Regions from separate parts of the Homo sapiens genome. Here region 1 is linked to region 2. Evidence: promoter capture Hi-C in 16 types of primary human blood cells and fetal thymus (Javierre and others, 2016). All regions are on one chromosome and are shown on one strand. Each heading gives the region's core, a stretch centred on a gene start or on the middle of the fragment in contact. The rest is flanking DNA. Distances are from core to core; before and after follow the strand shown.

Region 1 (3,161 bases), core at 534-3,033, 490 kb before region 2:
TTCAAGGGATTATAGACAAACTCCCATCTCCGTGGAAAAAGAGCACATGGGGAAAGGGCTGGCTATGTGCCCAGCAACAGCATACTTAAATATTCTTGCCTGCCATCTCTGAAGAGAGCAGCATCTGTCAAGAAGGATTCTCCCAGCACAGTGCTCCAGCTCTGCTAAGGGACAGACTACCTGCTCAAGTAGGTCCCTGACACCCATGACTCCTAACTGGGAGATACCACCAAACAGGAGTAGACAGACACCTTGTACAGGAGAGCTGTGGCTGGCATCAGGCCAGTGTCCCTCTGGGATGAAGCTTCCAGAGGAAGGAGCAGGTGGCAATCCTTTCTGTTCTGCAGCCTCCACTGGTGACACCCAGGCAAACAGGGTCTGGAGTGGACCTCCCGCAAACTGCAGCAGACCTGCAGAAGAGGGACCTGACCGTTAGAAAAAAACAAACAGAAAGAAACAATATCACCATCAACAAAAGGACCCCCACTAAAAAAACCTGTCCAAAGATCATCAGCCTCAAAGAGCAAAGGCAGATAAATCCATGAAGATAAGAAAAAAAAAACAAAAAACATGCTGAAAATTTAAGGAACCAGAATACCTCATCTTCTCCAAATGATTGAAATTCCTCTCCAGCAAGGGCAGAAAACTGGATGGGGAATGAGTTTCATGAGTTGATAGAAGTAGACTTCAGAAGGTGGGTAATAAAAAACTCCTCTGAATTAAAGGAACATGTGCTAACCCAATGCAAGAAAGCTAAGAACCTTTATAAAAGGTGACAGAAATTGCTAACTAGAATACCCAGTTTAGAGAAGAATATAAATGACCTGAAGGAGCTGAAAAACAGTGCTAAAACCTTTGTGAAGCATACACAAGTATCAATATCCAGATTAATCAGGTGGAAGAAAGGATATTAGAGGTTGAAGAAGAGCTTACTGAAATAAAACATGAAGACAAGGTTAGAGAAAAGAAAAGGAATGTGAAGTAGAAAATTAAAAGAAAATTAAAGCTTGCTTAAAAATTGTTGTTAGAGTTAGGATGGAATAGGCCTCAAATAGCCCCCTTCCAAAGTACGAGTTAAGAAAGAATACTAACTACTTCTCTGTGAAATATTAACCATATCTACCCTCTGCATATTTTGTAAGTTCTCTAAGTTTCTGTTTTACTGCTGAACAGCTGAAAGGTCACAAGATAGATAACCACTAGCTGTAAAACATGTTTTATCAAAGATGTAAGACGTGTCACAGATGATTAACTGCTTTTGTTCTCGCTTCTGTAAGCCTGCTTCCTGCCTCATGTACTGCCTGCCTTAAGATGCATAAAAGGCCGGGAGCAGTGGCTCATGCCTATAATCCCAGCACTTTGAGAGGCCGAGGCAGGCAGATCACGAGGTCAGGAGATCAAGACCATCCTGGCTAACAAGGTGAAACCCCGTCTCTACTAAAAATACAAAAACTTAGCCAGGCATGGTGGCAGGCACCTGTAGTCCCAGCCACTCAGGAGGCTGAGGCAGGAGAATGGTGTGAACCCGGGAGGTGGAACTTGCAGTGAGCTGAGATCACACCACTGCACCCCAGCCAGGGTGACAGAGTGAGACTCTGCGTCAAAAAACAAAAACTGCATAAAAGATACTTGCCTTGTTTGTTTGGTGCTCAGACTTTCTGGACACTAGTCCACTGAGCCAGTGTATACCTTAAATAATAAATCGTCCTTTGACCCCATCAGTCTCTCCAGTCTCTGATTTCCTGTAACATTTTCTAGGGGCTCATCCAGGATTGGAGATGGCAAATGTTCTGTCTCCTTTGCCCATAGGACTGGAGCCCAAGAGCAGGGGATACCTGAAATCCTAGGCACTGACAGGAGAACTTCAGACTGGAGAGGAGACCAGCTCTCCTGCATCCCGGTGCCCTTCCCTAACAGCACAATGGAACTGGCAAAGGGGCTACAGGACAATTCCAGGAGCTGCGTGCATTCTTCAAAAACGTGGTAAGGCCTGAAGCCCCAAGTCAAGACCCATCCCATAAGGATGAAACGGGGGCCTAATCACTTCCCAGGGTGTGACTACTCGTCTAACACAGAGGGGCTGAGGAAAGTGGGAGTGACCTGCCAGTTTGGATGAAACTTACAACCTAACTGTCACAGCACATGAAAGAGGCTCACTAAGTCAGTTTAGGAAAATAAAAACTGAAACTAGACGTAGCAAGAATGAGTTGCCACCCTAATTAAAAAACGTGAACTGGGAGTGAAGAGGCATGTGAAAGCACATTAAAGAGACAGTTCTGGGAAGGGCCAACATGGGGCATGACAGGTGAAGGCACAGATCTCTTAATGTGGACTGTGGGCTCTGGAGCCAGTGTGTGGCTGACCAGATCTAGAGCGATCTGTATAAGGCTGACAGGAGCTGCCCTACAGCTGCAGCAGCTGCAGTGGGAATACGATACTGTCCTAGCTAAGCAGTGCATGAAATTCCCGTAATAGGAACCAGTCTGATCAGTCTGTAACAAAAGGTAGAGTGAGTGTGTGTCATAAAAGGAGGAATGGGAGGAAAATCATCAAAAGCTTCTCCATTGGAGTGCATGTTAAATAATTCTGGGAAACGCTTTGGAGGAGATTATGGGGTAAAACTGACCCCCCAAAGGTTGAGAACTCTCTGTGAATTAGACTGGCCTTCTTTTAATGTTGTGTGGCCTGCCAAAGACACAATAGATAGGGAAGAAATTGGCCATGTGTTTAAGGAAGTGACAGGGGTTGGAGAACAGCCTGGGAATCTAGATCAGTTCCCATATATTGATTCCTGGTTGAACATGGTTCTAACACATCCCAAATGGATACAACCTTATTTGACAAGTTATTGTAAGTCTCTGGTAGCCTGAGCTATACCTAAGGAAGTTGAGAAGTCTATCTCAATAGGAGCCTCAGAGGAGAAGAAAAAGCAACAGAGTAGTCAGGAAAAAACAGTCTTCCAAACGCTTTCCAAGGAAAGAAAGTTTCCTCCTTCTTATGCTCCAATACACCCATCCTTGTCAGGGCTAAGACAAGGCAGAAAGCAAATGGCCCTCGAGGAATCAGGCTCAGAGAAAAGTGAGTCTCAAGCAGCATAACCCCATGGAGGGGATCCTGAGCCCCTGCCCATAAAAACCAAAGAGGAAAGGCAGGATTAAACA
Region 2 (3,140 bases), core at 276-2,775:
TGAAACTTGGTATCTACTAAAAATACAAAATTTAGATCGGCGTGGTGACTAAAAGATCCCAGCTACTGGGGAGGCTGAGGCATGAGAATCGCTTGAACCCGGAGGCAGAGGTTGCAGTGAGCTAAGATCATGCCACAGCACTCCAGCCTGGTGACAAGCCAAGACTCAGTTTCAAAAAAAAAAAAAAAAAAAACCCCAAACATGTCCAATAGTTCACTCACTTATGTCTTTCTGTTCTTCTGTAAGAGGCTTCTTTATTTCACACTCTTTAAAACTGCAGTGCTCAAAACCCCATTGATCCTTCCAACAGCCCTACTTTTTTCTCCCCCCAGCCTTCAGCACCTGTGAACATACTGTAACTTCCCTCTCCTCCCAGCAGGATGTAAGCTTCAACAAGAAAGAGGGATAGATTTTGTTGTCCAACCATTTTGTACCCGGACATATCCTTAAGGGTGGGCCCACATAACAACACCTGGCATGTATTAGGCTCTCAATAGTTACTAAAAGATGGCAAGCCCAGGTTCTCAGCGACATTATGGACCACAATAGTGCTCAAAGTTGAGGTCAGAGAGCTGTTCGACCCGCTGTTTCCAAACAGGATGTCCTAACTTTTTTCTCAGGGACCTTTTCATTACAGTGCAAGGACAAGTTCCGTGTGCAGCAAGTCTTCACCAACGAAAATCTCACATAAATAAGCAAACAGTGTTCCCACGAAATAGCAAGCCACAGGTACACAGCATGCACTTTTGAGTAAAAAGCAAATACAGTTATACTCACAAATACACCAGTTAGTTTATCCAGCATCCAATGCTTCGGCGCTGCAACACGCTTCAAGTGCTTCTTGGGGCCCCGGGCCTGAAAAAGACACCAAACTTTTTCAGAGAAACTCGTCTCAGTTAACAGTAAAATGTCTTTATCTTCAGCTGTAACAACTGCTAACGGGTAATACCGGATCGGAGGAGAAAGGACAGTCCAGGCTATTTCACGCCCAGTTTTGAGCAAATATTACTTCCTGCCAGACTCCAGAACAAACCCCGCAAAACTCCCAGACCTTTGACAACCTCACGAGTCTCTCTGGCGTCTGTCAAGACAGCGTCCACAGTGCTCTCCAAGCGAATCTGAGACTGCTTCAACGTATGGATATAAGCTAACCCGCGTAAAAAGCCAGTGCTGGGCTGCGGAGTCAAGGGTGGACTTGTAAGGTTAGCCGAGGAAGCTTATTCCTAACAAGACTCACGTGCCAACAGCACCACCGGCGCCCAGGCCGAGCACAAGGGCCAGCCCGGAACCCCCAGCCGCACTCTTCTCAGACCTCCGCTCTCCAAATCGGGTTTCCTGAAGCAGCACCAGCAGCATTCCCACCCGCCAAGCAGCGGTACCCGAAAAGTAAAAGCTTGCCAAGATGGAAGGCCCTTCTTCAAAGGATGGAGGCAGATAAATCCGGAGCTAGGACGCAGACGTCTTACCATGGCGAAATCCCGCGACGGAACAGAACCTCTCCTTTTACGGTGCAACCGTAATCTGCGGTGATAAACAGCGGGAAGTCAAATGAGTGAGAATTTCAGTTCCAGATTCCGCCTCGGGTAACCAACCTATTATTCTTCCGTTGTAGAGGTCACAGCTCGGAACTGAGTTTCTTAGCATATTCAGTTTCTGATACTGATTCATAGGTGTCAGTTATGCCACGGGACTTTTTGTTGTGCTTCCTCCCCTCAGGTCGGCTAAGCTGGGAGGACGCAGTTTACACTCTAAAAATTATCTTTCGCCAACTTTAAAAATATTTAACAGAAGCTCTGAAGGAGCAGGATTTAGCCGCCTTAAAAAAAAAAAAGCCAATCGTTAAGAAATAACCTGTATGATTCCTTGTGACTGTGACATGTTGTATTGTAAAATCATGATTTAAGAAACAATTCGTTTTTCTGAATTAGGGCCAATTTCACAGGTTTGAGAATGTATTAAAATCGTCTGTATTGTCAACTTTGAAAGGGTAGGTTTTATGGGACGTGAATTGTAAGTTCAATACCTTGTTTTGCATTAACTTGAGGTGATGGTTGCACAACTCTGTGCATGTCCCTAAAACCTCCAAAACAATTCACTTTTAAAAAGGTGAACTCGGCTATGTAAGTTGTACCACGCTCGCATGTGTGTGATGTCACAGCTTTATTGAGGTGGAATTGCTATACAAAACACAACCAGCCAAATGGACTTCCTTAATCTGTACCGTTTGACGAGTTCGGACATAGGCGTAAACCCACGGAACCATCATCACAATCGAGGTAATAAACATCTCCATCACCATCAAAAATTTCCTTGTGTTATTTTCTAGGTATTTCTTTTCTTTTTCTTTTTCTTTTCCTTTTCTTTCTTTCTTTTATTGTGTTTTTGAATGTGGCAGGGTCTGGCTCTGTCGCACCGGGTGGAGGGCAGGGGCGCCATCTCAGGTCCCGGCAGCCTCGACTTTCCGGGGGTTGAGTGTTCCTCCCACCTCAGCCTCCCACAGTGCTGAGACCCACAGGCACCTGCCAGCACTTTACGGAATTTTTATTTTTATTTATTTATTTATTTATTTATTGAGACGGAGTCTGGCACTGTCGCCGGGGCTGGAATGCAATGGCGCGATCTCGGCTCACTGCAACCTACACCTCCTGGCTTAAAGCCATTCTCCTGCCTCAGCCTCCTGAGTCGCTGGGATTACAGGCGCCCGCCACCAGGCCTGGCTGTTTTTTTGTACTTTTAGTATAGACAGGGTTTCACTGTGTTGGCCAAGCTTGTGTCAGACTCCTGACTTCATGAACCACCGACTCTGCCTCCCAAAGTGCTGGGATTACAGGCATGAGCCACCAAGCCTGGCCTCCAGCTTTTCTTTTCTTTTTCCTTTAACTGTAGAGAGAACACAACACAGTAACATCGACCATTTTTACCAATTTGTAAGCGCGTAACAGTGCCTAAAATGTTTTTGTTGTTATGTTTTGTTTGTCTTTGCATTCAATTCCTTGATTCAAGTCTATAGGCACTGTATGTGCCAGCTAGCAAGACAGCAGGCTGGAATAGATCTGAACTCCACACTGTTTGCTCTGTACTAGTATTCACCTCTTCTATTCTGAGACTCCTAGACTCCTTTTGCCATTACTTAGGTCCCT

What was found. The method cuts DNA at HindIII sites, captures the fragments that hold promoters and counts their contacts. A CHiCAGO score of 5 or more calls a contact.
Region 1: a fragment that was not itself captured here is called in contact with the fragment with the promoter of RPS4Y2 in region 2 in 1 of 17 cell types (naive B cells); the score reaches 6.5 in naive B cells.

The regions. Positions count from the first base shown.
Region 1 is chrY:21,247,799-21,250,959 of GRCh38, reverse strand. LOC107987346 (a long non-coding RNA gene) reads right to left here. Exons shown (of 4, transcript XR_007068467.1): 3 at 252-410. LOC107987347 (a long non-coding RNA gene) reads left to right here. Exons shown (of 3, transcript XR_001756079.2): 3 at 1,810-2,895. Among named protein-coding and RNA genes, the nearest start is that of PRORY, 200 kb to the left of the region's middle. The HindIII fragment of the contact is 1,550 bases long and covers 1,009-2,558 here.
Region 2 is chrY:20,754,493-20,757,632 of GRCh38, reverse strand. RPS4Y2 (ribosomal protein S4 Y-linked 2) reads right to left here and starts at 1,525. Exons shown (of 7, transcript NM_001039567.3): 1 at 1,467-1,525; 2 at 778-855. The coding sequence starts at 1,469. The HindIII fragment of the contact is 1,374 bases long and covers 1,396-2,769 here.